7 separate regions of the Homo sapiens genome follow, and all the other regions are linked to region 2. The links are contacts of gene promoters, found by promoter capture Hi-C in blood cells and fetal thymus (Javierre and others, 2016). All regions are on one chromosome and are shown on one strand. The core of a region is centred on a gene start or on the middle of the fragment in contact, and the rest is flanking DNA. Distances in the headings are between cores, read along the strand shown.

What was found. Contacts are between HindIII fragments. The CHiCAGO score rates a contact against its expected background, and 5 or more counts as called.
Region 1: a fragment that was not itself captured here is called in contact with the fragment with the promoter of MSL2 in region 2 in 1 of 17 cell types (neutrophils); the score reaches 5.3 in neutrophils.
Region 3: a contact is called between a fragment that was not itself captured here and the fragment with the promoter of MSL2 in region 2, in 2 of 17 cell types (total CD8 T cells and non-activated CD4 T cells). The highest score is 7.5, in total CD8 T cells.
Region 4: a contact is called between a fragment that was not itself captured here and the fragment with the promoter of MSL2 in region 2, in 1 of 17 cell types (activated CD4 T cells). The highest score is 7.8, in activated CD4 T cells.
Region 5: a contact is called between the fragment with the promoter of FAIM here and the fragment with the promoter of MSL2 in region 2, in 6 of 17 cell types (naive CD8 T cells, total CD8 T cells, total B cells and 3 more). The highest score is 6.5, in naive CD8 T cells.
Region 6: a fragment that was not itself captured here is called in contact with the fragment with the promoter of MSL2 in region 2 in 2 of 17 cell types (activated CD4 T cells and fetal thymus); the score reaches 6.0 in activated CD4 T cells.
Region 7: a contact is called between a fragment that was not itself captured here and the fragment with the promoter of MSL2 in region 2, in 3 of 17 cell types (fetal thymus, non-activated CD4 T cells and naive CD8 T cells). The highest score is 8.4, in fetal thymus.

The regions. Positions count from the first base shown.
Region 1 is chr3:138,919,198-138,921,897 of GRCh38, reverse strand. No RefSeq gene overlaps it. Among named protein-coding and RNA genes, the nearest start is that of LINC01391, 23 kb to the left of the region's middle. The HindIII fragment of the contact is 2,539 bases long and covers 137-2,675 here.
Region 2 is chr3:136,194,980-136,197,679 of GRCh38, reverse strand. It overlaps MSL2 (MSL complex subunit 2), which reads left to right and starts at 1,345. Exons shown (of 2, transcript NM_018133.4): 1 at 1,345-2,700. The coding sequence starts at 2,567. RefSeq lists enhancers at 798-1,097, 1,268-1,317, 895-1,641, 2,268-2,337, 1,642-2,388 and 2 more and a silencer at 1,538-1,927. The HindIII fragment of the contact is 2,546 bases long and covers 265-2,700 here.
Region 3 is chr3:138,778,688-138,781,387 of GRCh38, reverse strand. The region is part of intron 2 of PIK3CB (phosphatidylinositol-4,5-bisphosphate 3-kinase catalytic subunit beta); the gene reads left to right. It also overlaps the pseudogene GAPDHP39. Among named protein-coding and RNA genes, the nearest start is that of PIK3CB, 55 kb to the left of the region's middle. The HindIII fragment of the contact is 4,184 bases long and covers 1-2,700 here.
Region 4 is chr3:138,942,385-138,945,084 of GRCh38, reverse strand. FOXL2 (forkhead box L2) reads left to right here. Exons shown (of 1, transcript NM_023067.4): 1 at 1-861. It overlaps LINC01391 (long intergenic non-protein coding RNA 1391), which reads left to right and starts at 1,065. Exons shown (of 3, transcript NR_121649.1): 1 at 1,065-1,119; 2 at 2,467-2,700. RefSeq lists an enhancer at 1-562. The HindIII fragment of the contact is 2,195 bases long and covers 353-2,547 here.
Region 5 is chr3:138,607,497-138,610,196 of GRCh38, reverse strand. It overlaps FAIM (Fas apoptotic inhibitory molecule), which reads right to left and starts at 1,426. Exons shown (of 6, transcript NM_001033031.2): 1 at 1,260-1,426. RefSeq lists an enhancer at 689-778 and a silencer at 879-1,338. The HindIII fragment of the contact is 4,797 bases long and covers 1-2,700 here.
Region 6 is chr3:138,588,704-138,591,403 of GRCh38, reverse strand. The region is part of intron 2 of CEP70 (centrosomal protein 70); the gene reads left to right. Among named protein-coding and RNA genes, the nearest start is that of CEP70, 4.2 kb to the left of the region's middle. The HindIII fragment of the contact is 7,821 bases long and covers 1-2,700 here.
Region 7 is chr3:133,488,282-133,490,981 of GRCh38, reverse strand. BFSP2-AS1 (BFSP2 antisense RNA 1) reads left to right here. Exons shown (of 4, transcript NR_189064.1): 1 at 1-80. It also overlaps the pseudogene MAF1P1. Among named protein-coding and RNA genes, the nearest start is that of BFSP2-AS1, 1.5 kb to the left of the region's middle. RefSeq lists enhancers at 1,752-1,881, 1,902-1,951. The HindIII fragment of the contact is 969 bases long and covers 829-1,797 here.

The DNA of each region.
Region 1 (2,700 bases), core at 157-2,656, 2.7 Mb before region 2:
CAGATGAGGAAAAGGAAAAGATTTCTGCACCCTGCGTTTATCTTCACATCTGGACTTCACACTCTGGAATTCAATAGTGAGAGCTCATCACTGTCATTTCCTTGGGATAATGCCTATTGCCCTGACCCATAAAGCTTCAGTCTTACTTATTGCCCCAAACCAGCCCTAGCCACTACTGAGTTAGATGGTAACAACAGTAGCAATCATTTATTGAGCATTGTATTCATCAGCATTCTCCAAAGAAACAGAAACAATAGGAGTTGGAGAAGGGCTTATTTTAAGGAATTAACTCCTGCGATTGCAGGGACTGGTAAATCCAAAATCTTATTTTTTTCCTTCCGACAAGATGGCCAAAATCCAAAACCTATAAGGCATGCGAACAAACAGGAAACTCCGGCAAGGGCCCACACTGCAATCCTGAGTCCAAAGGCAGTCTGGAAGCAAAACTCCTACCTCTTCAGGGACATCAGTCTTTTCTATTAAGGAGGGTAATCTGCTTTACTCAAAGTCTACTGATTTAAGGCCAGGCACAGTGGCTCACCCCTGTAATCCCAGCACTTTGGGAAGCTGAGGAGGGGCATCAATTGAGGTCAGGATTTCAAGACCAGCCTGGGCAACATGGCGAAACTCCATCTCTCCTGAAAATACAAAAAAAAAAAAAAAAAAAAAAAAAATTAGCTGGGTGTGGTGGTGCGTGCCTGTGATCCCAGCTACTCGGGAGGGTGAGGCAGGAGAATTGCTTGAACCCGGAAGCTGGTGGGTGAGCCGAGATTGCTCCACTGCACTCCAGCCTGGGCAACAGAGTGAGATTCTGTCCCGAAAAATAAAAATAAAAAATAAAATTAAAAAATTAAAATAAAAAATAAAATCTACTGATTTAAGTGTTAATCATAGCTTTAAAAAAATACCAGCCAGGTACAGTAGCTCACGCCTGTAATCCCAGCACTTTGGGAGGCTGAGGCGGGTGGATCACCTGAGGTCAGGAGTTCAAGACCAGCCTGGCCAACATGACAAAACCCCGTCTCCACTAAAAATACAAAAATTAAGGTCGGGCGCGGTGGCTCATGCCTGTAATCCCGGCACTTTGGGAGGCGCAGGCGGGCGGATCACAAGGTCAGGAGATCGAGACCATCCTGGCTAACACAGTGAAACCCCGCCTCTACTGAAAATACAAAAAATTAGCCAGGCGTGGTGGCGAGCGCCTATAGTCCCAGCTACTCGGGAGGCTGAGGCAGGAGAATGGCGTAAGAAAACCCGGGAGGCGGAGGTTGTAGTGAGCCTAGATCGTGCCACTGCACTCCAGCCTGAGCGAGACTCCGTCTCAAAAAAAAAAAAAAAGAAAATTAACAGGGCATGGTGGCGGGAGCCTGTAATCCCAGCTACTGGGGAGCCTGAGGCAGGAGAATCACTTGAACCTGGGAGGCGGAGGTTGCAGTGAGCTGAGATCGCGCCATTGCACTCCAGCCTGGGCAACAAGAGCAAAACTCCATCTCCAAAAAAAAAAAAAAAAAAAAAAAAAAAAACCTTCACAGTAACATTTAGGCTACTTGTTTGACCAAAAATCTGGATACCATAGCTTATCCTAATTGACACATGAAACCATCACAAGCATTCCTCTGTGCCAGGCATTCAGATCATCTCAACAGCATTTTGAGACAGCCGTCATTATCCCCATCTTACAGAAGATAAAACCAAGGGCTTAAGTCCAAGTCCACGGGAAGTTGCGGACTATATCTGGAATTCCAGTCTCCCCTCCTTCCTTGTCCATGACTTCCCCCATCTCACCACTGGCTCTCACTCGGTTGCAAGAGCCCAAAAAGTGTGTCTAGGCCACAGGTTCTCAGCCACTGACGCACATTACAATCACTGAGAAAAACTCATCACTGAGTTTTTCTCAGAGATGAAGCAAACCAACAAACAAAAACCAATGTTCAGACCCTACCCCCAGAGAGTCTGATTGAGCTGGTCAGAGGTGGGCCCCTGAGCATCAGTATTTTAAGCTCTCCCAGGTGCTTCTAATGTGCAGCAAGGCTGAGAACCATGGTTATAGAAGGTGGGACAATGCAAAGCATGGGTCCCTCATCTCTTTGGAGTAAAGATTGCCCAGCAGAAAATAACCACAACCTAAATGAAATCAAGTAGCTATAAAATAGCCTGTGGGAAAAACTAGCAAATATATTTCCTTTCTCAGCATGAAATTGGCCATTTCCCCTCTCATTTTTCAAGCAGTGTACAGTGAGTATTTCTTTCATTATTTGGAGATACAAAAGAGTGAAACTGAGTTTAATTCATGTGGGCAACAGGCATTTGGTGAGCACTTGCTGAGTGTTGGGCAGCCAGCAGTCAGATCTAATGTGGTTCCTGTCTTTAGCCAGCAAGCCACTGAGGGGGGCAGTAAAGCCCATGAAACAACGTGGGAAGTGCAACGACAGAAACTTGTCCCAAAGGTGCCAGAGCCCAGAGATGGCGACCAGCAACAGGCTGGGCAGGTGAAACACTGGGTTTGACACTGTGAAGCCTGTATTTTGAGAGACTCACAACCACAATGAATATCCCTCCCTTTGTTGTCGAGGCCTTGAGTACTCGAGGCAGCAACCCAACTGTGAAGGGAACCAGCCAGGTCTACCAGCAGATCCTTACCTATTCTACCAGTCCTTGGTGAAATGAGAGAAGCTTACATTTAGAAGCTCTTGGTATTAA
Region 2 (2,700 bases), core at 96-2,595:
TGTAACATGTGCCACAATAGATTTACACGCATCATAATTTTCACTTTGCAAACGTATAGAGTACCTACTGTGCATGAAAAATTATGCTGAGGAGCTTTGGTGTGTACAGAGATAAGAAATGCTTCCTATGGCCTGTTACTATTTGTGCTACTCAAAAAAAGGTTTTGTACTTTGAGATGGGAGGGAAGTCATCTACTAAGTCAGGCTTTTGTTTATTTATATCCCAGTGCCCTTGATCTCCTGCAAAAACAAAAGGCAAAAGCTTGTTTTAAAAAACAAAACATTTGCAAGGATTTGGGTTTGTTCTAGAGCAAGATCACGCATTCTTCAAGACATCTGTTCACACAGAAGAGCTAGGTCTTTTAAAAAAGCTAGGTCTTTCAAAAAAAAAAAAAAGGAGTTCGTTTTGTTTTTAAAACAGGACTCTGTTCCGGTGAGAGCTCGGTGAAGTCCTGATCGGCACCCATGAAGGTGAGGCCGCACGAGTCCAAGGGCCAGAGGCCGTGGGAACAGCGCGGGTCCGACGGGTAGGAGGGGGCAGTGGGTTCGAGCCTCCACGCTTACATACAGCCTGCCAGGGCCTTAGAGCCCTCTGACTGCGAACCACCGCAGAGAGGTGCGGAACGCGGCCCCGACCCGGCAAAAGCCGTCCGCACGCCTGCTGGGCGCGCAGCCACGTTGACTACTGCAGCCTTCCCGGCTCGGCGAGAGCCTGCCAGCCAGCCGAGGCTGCGCCCTTTCCGCGGTCGGGATGAGCGGTTCCAGGAGAAAGGCCGCGAGGGCGGGGCTTGGGGCCTGGCGCGGCTATTTCCTCACACCGCGGTCAGTCAGGACGAGAGGCCGCGTTCAGGCCAGTGCAGAGCGCCACATGGCGCTACCAAGTCGGGCCCCGGCGTTGGCGGGCACAGAAGCAGTGTAATGCGGGAAGCCTGCAGCCCACACTGGGGAAGGATGTGCCAGCTAACGAATGTTTCACCACAGCCCACATGCCTGGGAGAGGGAATTTGAGAGCACGTGGGGGAGGGGCGAAGAGAGCTGTCGGCTCGCAGAGAGCATGCTCCATTCTGAGAGTCGAAGTGGAGAGCCAGGCATGCGCAGTGAGCCCAGGGTGGGTTGGCAGCGGTGAGGGACTGGCGCGAGCAGGCTGATGTGTTTATCCGGTTTTCTGGGTGGGCGGTCAAAGCGCACGCGGAAGGGCGAAAGGCGGCGGAGCTAGGTAGCAGCTTGCGCATGCGTGGAGTGAGCCGGTAGCTCTGGGAGGCTGTGGAGGGGGTTGTTAGAGGAGAAGCAAGGGAAAAGGGAAGCGAAGGGAGAGGAAAGGGGGGAGGGGTGAGAGTGTGCTCTGCGCATGCGTGCGAGCGCTAGCGACGACGGCGGCGGGGGAGTCTCGGGGATGACAGTGGCTTTGCCCGTTGGGGTAACGGTCGTCGTCGCCGCCAGCAGAGGCCTGAGGCGCCACACAGCCCGCGGGATCCATTAAGGCCGCAGCAGCCCGGGCCCTACCGAGCTGGAGTGGCGCGTGGAGTCGGGGTGAGGGCGGCGAGGCACGGGGGAGGGGCCTGCGGCGGGGCCTTGCTGTGTGCGCTGGGCGGCGGCGGGGCCTGGCGGTGTGAGCGCTTGCCTTCCGCGGCCGGGGAGTGCTGAGGGCGGCGGCGGCCGTCGTGCTCGGCGGAGGAGTCGTCTGTGTGTGTGGCGCCGAAAAAATGGCCGGGCAGTGAGGGGGCGGCGCTTGAGTCTGGTGACCCCGGAGTGTGCGACTGAGGCGCGAGGGGCGCCGCCGCGGCCCGGCCGGGCTTGCCCCCCGCCCCCTCCCGCCCGCCGGCGGCGGCCCGCGCACTTCCTCCCCGGCCTTCCCCTCCGGGTTGAGGACTCCCGCCCGCCTCGCCACCTCGGGGAACTGCGGGCTGCAACCCACGGGGCGGAGAGCCAGGGCGCAGTCTGGGCCCCGCGTCCGATATGGAGAGCGCGGCGGCGGCGTCCGCCAGCCGCAACATCAACCTTCGTCGCCGCCGCGGCGTCTTGCACTAGATCCGGGAAGCCGCTGCCCGACCGTCGTCCTTGCCGTCGCCGCCGCCTCCGCGCCCTGTACTGGGATGGAGTAAGAGGCCCTGCAGCCCGGGAGAAGCGTGCCGCGCCTCAGACGGGGCCGGGGCCTGCTCCCGCGCCTGCCAGCTCGACTTGAGGAGGCGCCTCCGTGTCCGGAGATGGAGCTCGAGTGCAGGCCGCCTGCCGAGCCGCGGGGCTAGACTGAGCTCCGAGTCCCGCCCCGAGCGCCCAAGCCGCCGCGTTCTGCGCTCTGTGGTCGCTCCGGACGAACTCGAACGCTGGTTTCTCTCTCATATTTTTGGTCTGGAAGTCTCAGGGACGGAGGGGCGCCAAGGCCCCATGTGTGGGAGGATTGTTTCAGCTCCACAAACTTGCACGGATTTTGGTTACTTGTTTGGCCAATGGTTCGGCTCTGATTTCTTCCGAATTGTTGCAAATTCGCCATCGTTCCCTGGCTGCTTACTAAGTTGGATCCGGAATTTCTTTTCAACCGGGAGCCATTGGTGTCGAAGTGTCTGCAATGAACCCCGTGAATGCTACTGCTCTCTACATTTCCGCGAGCCGCCTAGTGCTCAACTACGACCCCGGAGACCCCAAGGCGTTTACTGAGATTAACAGGCTCTTGCCTTACTTCCGACAGTCCCTTTCGTGCTG
Region 3 (2,700 bases), core at 27-2,526, 2.6 Mb before region 2:
CCTACCTCCATCTCCTAAAGTGCTAAGATTACAGCTATGAGCCACCATGCCTAGCCAGAAGTTTCATTTTCGTTTTTTGTTGTTTTTTTTTTTTTTGAGATAAGATCTCAGTCTGTCACCCAGGCTAGAGTGCAGTGCCAAGATCTTGGCTTACTATGGCCTCAACCTACTGGGCTCGAGCAATTCTCTCACCTCAACATCCTGAGTAGCTGGGGCTGCAGGTGAGCACCACCATGCCTGGCTAATTTTGTTTATTTTTTTGTAGAGATGAGGTCACACTGTGTTGCTTAGGTTGGCCTTGAGCTCCTGGGCTGAAGCGATTCTCCTGCCTTGGCCTCCCAGAGTGCTGGGATTACAGGCACGAGCCCAGAAGTTTCATTTTTATGTAAAGACTTAATTTTTAGCTGGAGCATTGTGGGTCATGCTTGTAACATCAGCACTTTGGGAAGCTGAGGCGGGAGGATTGCTTGAGGCCAGGAATTTTAGATCAGGCTGGGCAACATAGCGATACCCTGTCTCTACAAAAAAACAAAACAAAAAAACCCCACAAAATTAGTCAGGTGAAGTGGTGTATGCTTGTAGTCTCAGCTACTTAGGAGGCTGAGACAGGAGGATGGCTTGATCCCAGGAGGTAGAGGCTATAGTGAGCTAAGATGGCGCCACTGTATTCCAGCCTGCATGACAGTGAGAGACACTCAGAAAAAAGTCTCAGAGAAAAAAAGAAAAAAGACATAATTTTAAAAACATTTAGCCCACACTGCTTTCTTTTTGGAAATGATAGTAACATTCACAACTAAAGTAAGTTAATTATAGTTTAAGGGCTGGGCACAGTGGCTCACACCTGTAATCCTAGCACTTTGGGAGGCCAAGGTGGGCAGATCACGAGGTCAAGAGATCGAAACCATTGTGGCCAAAATGGTGAAACCCCATCTGTACTAAAAATACAAAAATTAGCTGGGCATGGTGGTACACACCTGTAATCCCAGCTACTTGGGAGGCTGAGGCAGGAGAATCACTTGAACCCTGGAGGCGGAGGTTGCAGTGAGCCGAGATTGCACCACTGCACTCCAGCCTGGCAACAGAGCAAGACGCCGTCTCAAAAAAACAAAAAAAACAAAAAAACAAAAGTTAGTTTTCTGGTGGGCTCACACATGTAATCCTAACACTTTGGAAGCCAAGGTGGGTGGATCACTTGAGGTCGGGAGTTCGAGACCAGTCTGGCCAACATTAGCAAAACTCTGTCTCTACTAAAAATACCAAAAATTAGCCGGGTGTGGTGATGTGTGCCTGTAATCTCAGCTACTTGGAAGGCTGAGGCAGGAGAATTGTTTGAACCTGGGAGGTAGAAGTTGCAGTGAGCTGAGGTCTCGCCACTGCACTCCAGCCTGGGCAACAGAGCGAGACTCTGTCTCAAAAGAAAAAAAAAAGTTCTCAGTGCCATTTAAATTTCAGTAGAACTTGGACCTGCATAATTCTAATTTTAGAGATTAACTTGTTTGCTGATATACTAAAGTTATCTGTATATTAGAAGAAAATATTTCTCATAAGAAATGCCCTTGGGCCAGGCATGGTGGCTCACACCTGTAATCCTAGCACTTTGGGAGGCCGAAGCAGGAGGATTGCTTGAGCTAGGGTTTCAAGACAGCCTGGGCAACAAAGCAAGACACTGTCTCTATTAAAAAAAAAAAAAATTTGGCCAGGTGCAGCGATTTCATGCTTGTAATCCCAGCCCTTTGGGAGGCTAAGGCAGATGGATCACTTGAGTTCAGGAGTTCGAGACCAGCCTGGGCAACATGGCAAAACCCCACGTCTACCAAAAATACAAAAAATTAGCCAGGCATGGTGGCATGCACCTGTGGTCCCAACTACTCGGGAGGCTTGATGTGGGAGGATTGCTTGAGCCCAGGAGGTAGATGTTGCAGTGAGCCAAGATCGTGCCACTGTACTCCATCCTGGGTGACAGAGTGACAGCCTGTCTCAAAAAAAAAAAAAAAAAAAAGAAGGCCGGGCGTGGTGGCTCACGCCTGTAATCCCAGCATTTTGGGAGGCTGAGGTGGGCAGATCATGAGGTCAGGAGATCAAGACCATCCTGGCTAACACGGTGAAACCCTGTCTCTACTAAAAATACAAAAAAATTAGCCGGGCATGGTGGTGGGTACCTGTAGTCTCAGCTACTCGGGAAGCTGAGGCAGGAGAATGGCGTGCACCCAGGAGGCAGAGCTTGCAGTATGCCGAGATCATGCCACTGTACTTCAGCCTGGGCGACAGAGCGAGACTCCGTCTCAAAAAAAAAAAAAAAAAGAAATGACATAGAGTAAGATATATATTTGGAAAATGTGTGTGTTGCTATTTTTTTTTTTGGCAGTAGAGGGGTGCTGAATACAGAGGACTTTATTGATGGTGCACTACAAAGTGGAGCTTTCTAGGCCTATCCCATTTTTCAGGGGGTCTGGCATGGAAACCGTGTCTGGGAAGGGAGATTCTCAGTGTGATGGCGGGGGACTGAGTGGGGCAGGACTGCACAGCAGCTGAGGGCCTCTCTCTTACTTACATGGTCTCACTGGGGCTGGTGGTCCAGGAGGCCATGTGCACCATAAGGTCTACCACCCTGTTGCTGTAGCCAAATTCATTGTCATACCAGGAAATGAGCTTGACAAAGTAGTCATTGAGAACAATACCAGCTCCAACATTGAAGGTGGA
Region 4 (2,700 bases), core at 201-2,700, 2.7 Mb before region 2:
GTGTGTTTGCTCCGCGAACCCTCTTGAAGCTGTTCAGAAGCCGCTTGCCGCGGGGCCCACTAGGCGGGGCGGGGGTTGGGACCCAGCGGGAGCCGGGGCAGCCTGGCTCCACGGCCTGTACTCGGTTTACACCGCGGGCGGGCGCGGAGGGAGGCTGCGTTTCCTCCGCTATCAGTCCCGTCGCTTCGGGCACCTCCGGGCCCCGGCGGCTGGCTAATGTTTTGTTTGAAAGATCGGTGGAACTTTTTAAGAGAGTATTTAAAAAAAAAAAAAGGAAAAAAAATTCACCGGGCAACCGGGGAAGTATTGTGGCCTTGGAGTTTGCTAAATCCAAATATGAAAATCAAAAGCTTTAGTATTCCTCATCTTCTCTTCTGGAAGATTTGCGTTAGAGTTTTTGTTGGGCCTTCAAAAAGCTGTGTTCAGAGTTAGGAGAATATATCCAATAAAAGATGGTTTCGTCTACCAATTGGGGAAGTTTCACCCTCTCCCTATCTGAAGAAAAAAATCAAAAACAAATGTCCCCGGATCTTTCGATGCAAGTCCTGGAGGCAGGGAGATCACTGCCTGCCTGGCCCACGCTGCTGGGACGGCTCGTCCTCCCTGCTTTTTGTTTTTCAAACCTCCTGCTTCTCCCACCTTGGGAAGGAGAAATGTGAAACCCGGCAGCGGCCGACCTAGGCGGTCTTGTGGCCCGGAGCCGGCCCGGCCCGAAAACCATAGACCTGGTTGTACTGTAGCTTGTTGTTTGGGGGACCAAATTTTCTAGAGAGAACTAGAGCACTTTTGTTGTGTTTTTTTGTTTTGTTTTTGTTTTTTGCCTTGTCGATTCCCGAATAAATTTTGTGTTCCTTCTTTTAACACGGACTTCTTTATTTCTGTCGCTCCTTAGTTCAGCAGCTAGTTAAAAGAGGAAGATTTTCAGCAAAATTTTATCTTTTTCAGAATGAGTTAAACAAAGATTGAGAGCAACCGGGGTGGCAGGCGTTTGTGGCTGTCGCTGCTGCTTTGTTTTCCTGGGATTGTTTGTTTTCTGTGTCATCACTGGCCCGTTGCGGCTGTTTAACGTCAGCAGAAAGACTTTTTCTGCCGTGGTTCGTTCACAAGGCGCGACTGTAGGTAGGACTTGGTTTATTTTTGTACCTATTCAAGTTTGTATTCTACCTCATACACAGTTGTACTAGGTGTATGGGCTGGCTGTGTTTTTATTATTGTTCTCAAACTTTTCGATTTTGAGTCAACTATAACAGCCAAGAGTTTGTTCCAAACATTAATAGATAAAATTCTGGTTGTGGAAATGCGCTGCAAACTGCTAACCTCTGTACAAATGTGAGAAGTGACTGCTTTATTATTTTTAATAGTCAGAATTCATTTACCTTGAGATATGGGTAGGAGATTTGGAGGTTTCAGTAAGGATTGAACATACTTCGCGGCTGCAGAAATTTAGTCTTTTTTCTTTCTCTCTCTTCCTTTACTGAGATCCCCAAATAACGAATTAAGATCCATGCTTCCGCGCAGGCACACAGGCGTTTGACCTGGTTGCAGTCTGGTTCTCCCAGGCGGATTAGGGGGTGGTCGGCTTTCACTCTTCTGATGGGATAGATGACTTCCGACTTCTGATAGGATAGATCCGCCGGTTCTTGCGGGCTGCTGCTCAGCTGAGACTAGACCCCGCACCCAGCCCTCACTGCCCCCCCCCCGTCTATCTCGGGGCCTGGCCAGCAATGTGGCGGCAGGTCCAGGCCGGCTGGTGGGCCAGGAGCGGTTTTGCGCCACGGGAATGAGCCTGCAGGCCTCTCACTTCAGCCCTCCAGTGGTCAGGCGGTAGGAACCTCAGGGTGGTATCCTGTTATGTATAGTTGGGCCCAAGTGGCTTCTGCTCAGAATGCCCCCCGCCCCCCACAGGCATCCTGCGAGAGGCTACAAGGCAGGAGACCAAGCCACGGGGATTCTCAGGGGGCATCACCTCAAGACTGGGACTGGAGCTTACCAGGAACCGGCAGGAGCAGGATGGAGAGGGAGGCTCAGCTGGAGCAGGAAGCCCTAGAGGCTGGTCAGGCCTGGTGTCTGGGTGCCTTTGGTGCCCGGCTGCTCCACTATCTGGCTAAGGGGAGTTGCAGAACAGAAAGCAGCCTGCTGTGTGCATGTCTGTTTGTGCTTTGTCTAGCGTGAAAATTTAGCCCATGGGCAAGTAATTGTGTAGTCTGTATCTGCTGCAAATGTGTGTGTACAGTGTCAGTTGTGTATTGGTGACAGGGTGGGAGGTGTGTGTGTCTGTCATTCGCCTGCAGAGTGGGCATATATTTTTGGCATTGTAATAATCATATGGCTAACACTTAGGAAGTGCTTACTGGGACCACAGTGTGTGTGGCATTCATACCTCATTGGTGATGTGTGCATTTGTGGGTGTGTATTCCTGGCTTGCTGAAAAATAAAGTAATATGGACAGAGCCTTTGCTTCATCAGGCAGAGGCTCCCTGTTCTGAAGCTGGCTGTCAGCACTCCCCCAACTGCCGTCTCAAGCAGAGAAAGCAAGGGAGGGAAGCTTCCAGGACCAAGCCCTGGTGGGCAGGTAGCAGCCCACCTCCAGTGAGACGGAGAAGTTGGCCGGGGCCAGCAATGAAGGACCAGCCTGTCTCCTCCCCGAGAACTGAAAGGCAAAAGGCACCCAAGGCTGGGAAGAGAGCAGCAGCCTCACCA
Region 5 (2,700 bases), core at 177-2,676, 2.4 Mb before region 2:
ACTGAAATGGTTCGTTCAAGATAAACCGAAGTCAGTTTAAAAATTACTAGATGATAGTAGTTACTAAGATGCTCATGGTTCCCTTTTCAGCAAAGGCCCCCAGGTAGGGCCAGCCAATAATGCAAGTCACACTCAAGTGTTGACATCTTCATCTCCGGGCCGGCCCCTTATGAAGTGAGGGGGGTCTCCAGTAAAATCACTCAGGAAGCTCCTCGAGCCAAGTATTCCCAAATGCTACTTACTGGAGGTACAAAAAGGAGAATAACTTTTCTGAGGGCCATTTCACAATCTATACCAGAAGCCTTGTGGTATAGACCGTGGATTCTATCTTGTTTTAGAACGAATCTTGTGCGATTCTTTCTACAGAAATGATCACGCTCAAAAACCCAGATACAACGATGCTCAATGAATTACTTTTTGCAATAACTAAAAACTGAAAACCACTTGTACGCTCACCATCAGGGAGAAACTACATTTAGTAAATCACAGTCCAAAGCCATGCCAAGAGTCAGGGATGGATGAGGTAGTCAACCTGACACACAGGAATGTACAGTCGAGAGAGAGAGAGAGAGAGAGAGAGAGTCGAGAGAGAGAGAGAGAGAGTCGAGAGAGAGAGAGTCGAGAGAGAGAGAGAGAGAGAGAGAGAGAGAGAGAGAGAGAGAGTTTCAGCACTTTATGATGCAGGTTCTGCAAAAACAAGCCCCGCTCATGTTACAAGGAAAAACCATCTGGAAGAATATACACCCTCATGTTAACGCAGCTTGTCTCTGGGGAGCAGCGGCACGGCTGCTTTGCTTGCTTCCTTGCTTTCTGTTCCACGTTTTCGACAGTGAGAAGTATTATCTTTAGAGGTCGCGAACAGGCCGGAGGAGGGTGCGGCAGGTCGCGGGGCAGGGCCTCGCTAGGCAGGGACGCCCCCGCACCGCCCCGGGCTGGCCCCGCGCCCCGCGCCCCGCCGCACCTCCACCTTTGCCGGCGGTGAGCGGGAGCCGCGTCCCGCCCCGAGGTCTGGGATCACCGGCGGGCCGGCTGGAAGCGTCCGGAACTCACCCAGCGTCTCACCCGCGCGGGTCTCACCGACCGCGCAAACACCGCCCGCCGCCGCCGCCCAGAGATGGCCGCCGCCGGCGCAGCAGGGCCGAGAGCGTGGGGACGCCGGGGGGCTGAGTGCAGGGGTTTCCAGGGTGCGGAGCGGGCGGGCCCGAGGCGTCCGGGCGGGCGCAGGCGCGACACCGACCCCACCCGGTCTGCTGCCTCACCTGTGCTCTGTGGGCCGCGGGAGGCTCTGGGGTAGGTTTCACCAAACAACCGGTTGGTTCCGACTCGGCTGCGTAGGCCGCGTGGCCTTGCTCCCCTGGCCGAGAAACAGGCGCAGCCGGCGCGGAGGTTGAAAGCTCTGCAGGCGCGAGTACCAAACGCGCCGACTGTTTGTCGCGCCTCTCAGGTCCCCTGGGGCGACCAGCGCAGGAGGCCACCCCTCCCGCCGCCACGGACCCAACCCTGGTCCTCTGCCTTAGCCGAAGGCCGCACCCTCCGCGCATAGGCCTTCCTCAGCCCCAACCCAGGACATCACCATGTCCCGCAGTGCGTCCAGTCTTCCTGCCAGCAAGTGTGGGTAGGAGCCGGCCGCTGGCCCCGCTCTGGGCTAGACGGTGGGGACATACTGGCGGGCAAAAACAGCCCTGTGCCTGCTCTGCAGCTATGGGGAAGGAATATCTGTTCATGGCAGCAATAGCATTCGCTCCTTAAAACCTCTTTATGAGTCTCATTCCTTTTTTAAAGACCCAAACTACTTAAGGTGGGCATGAAGCCCCCATGTGTGATCTAGCCTCTGCCTGCTTGGCTTCATTTAGGTCCTTAAAGGATGCAGGTTTCTTCTCGCCCAGGGCCTCTGCAAATGCTCTTCTCTCTGCCTGGACACTCCTCACCTCTTCCCTATTGTGAGAGTTCTTCATATATCATTTCTTAGATTACACTATCCTGGCCCATAAGACTTGCAGCATTGCTGGGTGTGGTGGCTCATACCTGTAATCACGGCATTTTGGGAGGCAGAGTGGCGGATCTCTTGAGTCCAGGAGTTCAAGACCAGCCTGGGCAACATGGTAAAAAAAAAAAAAAAGAGAGAGAGAGAATGAGAAAGAAGAAAAGAAAATAATTAGCGGCTCAGGCCTGTAATCCTAGCTACTTGGGACGCTGAGGTGGGAGAATTGCTTGGGCCCTGAAGGGAGGTAGAGGCTGCAGAGAGCTGTGATTGCACCACTACACTCCAGCCTGGGCAACAGAGCGAGACCCTGTTTCATTAAAAAAAACACACACAAAAAGAAACAGCCGGGCTCAGTGGCTCACGCCTGTAATCCCAGCACTTTGGGATGCTGAGGCAGGCATGGCAAAACCCCGTCACTACTGAAAATATAAAACTTAGAGGGGCGTGGTGGTGCATGCCTGTAGTCCCAACTACTTGGGAGGCTGAGGCAGGAGAATCGCTTCAACCTGGGAGGTGGAGGTTGGAGTGAGCTGAGATTGAGCCACTGCACTCCAGCCTGGGCGAAGAGCAAGACTCTGTCTCAAAAAAAAAAAAAAAAAAAAACAGCCGGGCACAGTGGCTTACACCTGTAATCCCAGCACTCTGGGAGGCCAGGTGCGGATTGCCTGAGGTCAGAAGTTTGAGACCAGCCTGGCCAACGTGGTGAAACCCTAGCT
Region 6 (2,700 bases), core at 196-2,695, 2.4 Mb before region 2:
TTGGAACTATGTTTTGGACTTTTAGATTAAAAAAAAAATTGGAATATTTGTATATACATGAGGTATCTTGTTTAGAGTTGGGTAACTCTAAACACAAAATTCATTTATTGTTTCATATACAGCTTATACACACAGCCTGAAGCTAATTTTATACATTTTTAATAGTTTTATGCATGAAATGAAGTTGTGACTGTGACCTGTCACATAAGGTCAGGTGTGGAATTTTCTACTTGTGGTGTCAAGTTGGTGCTCAAAAAGTTTTGGATTTTGGAGCATTTTGGATTTCAAATATTCATATTAGGAACGTTCAACCCGTACCAGCTTTATTTTGGTTAGGTTAGCATTTCCTTTACTTTTCTATTTTTTGTTATTTAACAAAATCTTTTTAGCGTAAAATGAAATTTTTGTTATAAATCACATACCAAATGTATAGCTTAATAAATTATTACAGGACCATACCATTCAGGTATGCCAGATCCCCTCCATTACCCTATCCCAGTCAAAACTCCTGTGTTCCCATTTAGTCACCATTCTTCTGGGTTTTATAGTTTTGTAGTAATCACTTCCCTGTTTTTTTTTTATTATTTATTTATGAGATAGAGTCTCATTCTGTTGTCCAGGCTGGAGTGCAGTGGCACGATCTCAGCTGTCTGCAACCTCTGTCTCCTGGGTTCAAGTGATTCTCCTGCCTCAGCCTCCTAAGTAGCTGGGATTATAGGCACACACCACCAGGATCGGCTATTTTTTTTTTTTTTTTAGTATTTTTAGTAGAAACGGGGTATCACCATGTTGGCCAAGCTGCACTGTGAGCCTGGCCTCCTAGTTTTTGATAGCTTCCTTGTTATATAATATATTGAACAATTCCTATCGCAGATATGAAATCAGCCATTTCTTTAAAATGCCCGGGTTTCATTTAGAGGGAAATAATATTTCAGTTACAGTCTGAATGCTAAAGATCCTGAGTTAGTCACTGTTTCAGGCATTTCAGTAGACAGAGCTAGGATACCTGTATCTGTCTATAGACACACATGTTAAAAGATACCTAATGTATTCTACTTCCAGTCTTCAGATTGAGATTACAGAGCTTTTACTTAACAACTTCTCTATCACAACTGTAACTCCTTTTTTCCATACTGAGAATCATGATTCTCAAGAATATAGGAGAAAATAGAATATTCCATATTTACTCATTATTCTGTATTATACATATGACAGTATCAGAACTATATTTCTGAAATCACCATCAATATGATTACTGAAAACATTAAACCTTTTTTTTTTGGCTTATGTTCTTCTCATTTTTTCTTCTCTCTCTGTTTTAACAGTTATGCTCTATCTGCATTGTCAGAGTATATAGCCATTTCATGTTCTGCTTTTTCCCTCTTAGCCTATTAGTTCTATTAATATATTTAATGTTTACCACCAGTGTTTATGCTGAGGTCTCTCTAGGCATTTTGGCTACCTGAAGCTAATACATTGTTAGATTCCTCGGGAAGTAATATTGTCTGAGTTCTTATATATTGATCAAAGTTTATTCTTTTTATACTTCAAAGTCAATTTTGCAGATATAAAGTCTTTGGCTCACACTTCTTTTCCGTGAATTTCTTAAATACATTACTCCTTTTTCTTCTGGAATAAAGTATTGGTATCAAAGTCAGATTATTATCTAATTTTTCTTCTTCTTATAAGTCATGTGGGTTTTTTTCTTGTAGATAACCAAATAATTTGTTTTCTTTTTTTCTTTTTGAGATACAGTCTTACTCTGTCACCCTGGCTGTAGTGCAGTGGTATGATCTTGGCTCACTGCAGCCTCCACCTCCTGGGTTCAAGCAGTCCTCCCACCTCAGCCTCCTGAGTAGCTAGGACTACAGGTGTATGCTGCCACACCCAGCTAATTTTTTTTTTTTTTTTTCTTGAGAGACAGGGTTTTGCCAAGTTGCCCAGGCTGGTCATGAACCCAGGCTCAAGTGATCCACCTGCCTCAGGCTTCCAAAGTGCTGAGATTACAGGCATGAGCCACTACGCCCAGCCAAATTTTTTCTTTTTCATTAAAGTCTGCTAATAATATTAGAATATATCACTGTGTTGGTTGTTTTGGGTCAGTATTCTCAGGTACTTCATATTTTCTTTCCATTTGTAGTTTCAAATCTTTTTTTAAATTTCAGGAAAACTTTATTTTTAAAACAGCTTTATTGATATATTTAATATACAATAAGCTGCACATATGTAGTATAAGTTTTGACTTACATATACACCTATGAAACCACCCCAATCAGGATTGTCAATATATCCATCATCCCCCCAAATTCCCTTGTTCTCGTTAGTAGTCTCTGTGTCTAGCCTCCAATTCTCTCAGCAACCACTGATCTGCTTTCTATCACCACAGTTGGTTTTCATTTTCTAGAGTTTTATATAAATGGAATGTTATAGTATGTACTATTTTATGGCTGGCTTTCAGCGTAATTATTTTGACATTTATCCATGTTGCACATATTCTTTTTTATTGCTGAGGGGTATTCCATCCAATGGGTATACCACAGTTTGTGTGTCTGTTCACCTGCTGCTGGACATTTGAGTTGTTTCCAGTTTCTGGCTATTATAGATAAAGCTCTTACGAACATTTGTGTACAGTCTTTGTGTGGACATAATGCTTTCATTTCTCTTGGGTAAATTCTAGGAATGGCATGACTGGGTCTTATG
Region 7 (2,700 bases), core at 64-2,563, 2.7 Mb after region 2:
GGTCTGGGATGGGGAGAGAGCCTTCAGTATGTGGGCCGCCCTCCTGTCAGAACAGTGTTTGTCGTCTCCTGCTATCTTACGTGAGTAGCTCTCAATCCTGCTGATAATGTGGGTATCTTTGCTCTCTACAGTTAGCTGTGAGTTGATGGCTTCAAAGCCCAGTTCTCCAATAGCTTCCTGTCTCAGGGAGGGAGCTCCATGCTTGAGAGGGGCCATTGCTGCCTGCCTGGTGGGGCTAAATCAGGCCTGGCTGGGTCATCGGCACCGGTGCATAGGCAGGGCAGGCTCCGCACAGTGTGGGCTCCTCAGCACCAGAGGGTGGCACCGTGGCATCCACCTGGGCCACACTGTATCTGGGGGAAGAAACTCCATGGCAATGTTTCATTATACCTGGCCCTGCTGGCTCATCCAGGTGGTCACTATGACACATCCTTACCACACTGCACATTGCCTGCTTTAGCCACCAACATGCCACCAACCACCACAGATCACCTTGGTCAGCCAGCAACCTCCACCTCCCCCACCAGTCAATGTCTATCAGTCAAAATTCCTAGAACTAAATAAGTATAAAAGAAACTTAACTACTTCAACTTAAAAATAATTTGCTTCTGTCTGCCTATGAAAATGTTAATATTTGTGAAATCTGAGTGAAGGGTATATGGCAATTCTTCAACTATTCTTTCAACTGCTCTGTAAGCCTGAAATTATGTTAAAATAAAAATTCAAAAACAAAAGCCAAAAACCTTGTACCCTTAAGGGTTACTTGAGTTAGTGGTTCACAGCAACAGATACTCAAATCTGGTTTGTGTTACTTCTGAAAATTAAGCTTCATATCTTTTTCTTCATGGCTCTTTCTGGTGTAAAGTACAACTTGAATCTCATGTTAGAAGGTCTATCCCAACAAAGCCCAGACCACTGGACTCTAGAGGCTTCACGCATGTGGCAGACTCCTGAATATTGTCAGGCTTTATCTCCCATTTTCTGGCATTGCAGGTACTTTACTAAGGCATTTAGGTGCTAGCTCTTTGGGGCTCTCCAGGTCCAATTAGCATGATAAAGATATGTAATGGATCAGCTTGGGCTTCTGGGTCCCTCCAGATTGCATTCTGACTAAGTGCAGGCAAGCCGACATAGCCCGGAGGCAGGACAGTAAAAGTATACTGCTGTCCCTGCCACAACAGGGCAGAAGAGGATTAAGGTGGGGGTGGGCAGGATAAAGCATTTGCCAGGTCAATAGTGGCCCAGGTGCCAGGGACTGTGTGGATTTGCTCCAGTAAAAATACCGTCTCTGCAATTCTGGTTGTGATTCACCTCACCACTGGATTAGTCCGTGATGATCTGTGGTCATTTTCTATGACCTACTTGATTTGTACACTGATCAAACAAGTGAGTTAATTGTGGATTTGGTAGGAATCACTACCTTGTATCTTTCAAGTCTTTGGTGGTGGCATTAAGCTCATGTGAGGAGCAGAAAAAAAGTTTGTGAGAAGGCTGGCACACTGTAGGAGCTTGATAAATGATAGCTATCATCATTGTTGTTGTCATGTGTTATTGTCTTAGCCAAGTCAGGGTCAAAATTTACATTATCTTTTTTCTTTTTGAAATATCATATTTCATTGCTCCTAAGAAGCATACTGTTGTGTACTTTAACATCTCTGAAGTCAGGATATGATAATAGTTGATGGTATGTTGTGATTGCTGTTGTTTCGATTAAAATTGTGTTCATTTGTAGAGGATTTTTCTTTGCTTCTGCCTGTCACTTGGGGCACAGGCTGAGTTACCAATGAGAGTAAAGCTTCAGGACACCTCATTTGCATGGCCCTTCCAAGGTCCTGAAAGGGTTCCACCTCACAGCTTCATGGGATCAAATTACATATTTTTTTTCTGAGACAGTCTCAATCTGTTGCCCAGGTTGGAGTGCAGTGTTGCTATCTCAGCTCACTGCAAACTCTGCCTCCCAAGTTGAAGTGATTCCCATGCTTCAGACTCCAGAGTAGCTGAGGCACGTGCCACCACACCCAGCTAATTTTCTTTGTATTTTTAGTAGAGAGATGCAGTTTTGCCATGTTGGCCAGGATGGTCTCAAATTCCTGGCCTCAAGTGATCTGCCTGTCTCAGCCTCCCAAAGCGCTGGGATCACAGATGTGAACCACCACACTCAGCCTCATCATAGGTTTTTATAAAATTTGCAAGAGTAAGATATTTTGTATTTCTTTTTTAAAAGAGGGCATCAAATTATATAAGCTTTGGGTTCTACCCTTGCCAAGGAACTCATAATAATGTGAAACTACAGGTGGTCCCTAACTTTACGATGTTTCAGCTTATGATTTTCCAACTTTGTGATAGTGTGAAAACAATATGCATTCAGTGTGCTTCTCAACTTACAACTGGATAAAGTTGACTTATGATATAGTCACCTTATGATGGTTTATCAGGACATAACATCATCATAAGTTGAGGTGCATTTGTACATTAAATTCTCTGAGGTTTTTTTGATGGCACAAGTAGTACCAGAAAACTGCATGAGAACCAACTTTTGATTCAAATTATACGGGCAGATTTTACTTCCTCCATCCATGGCAAAATTGAAACATGCAACTTCTCTTGCTGTCCTACTATGCATGTCCCTTTCTTTCTCTTTTTTCTGTATATTTCTCATGGACCCCCTCCACAGAGGCCTTTAGTGTCTCAGCTTTATCT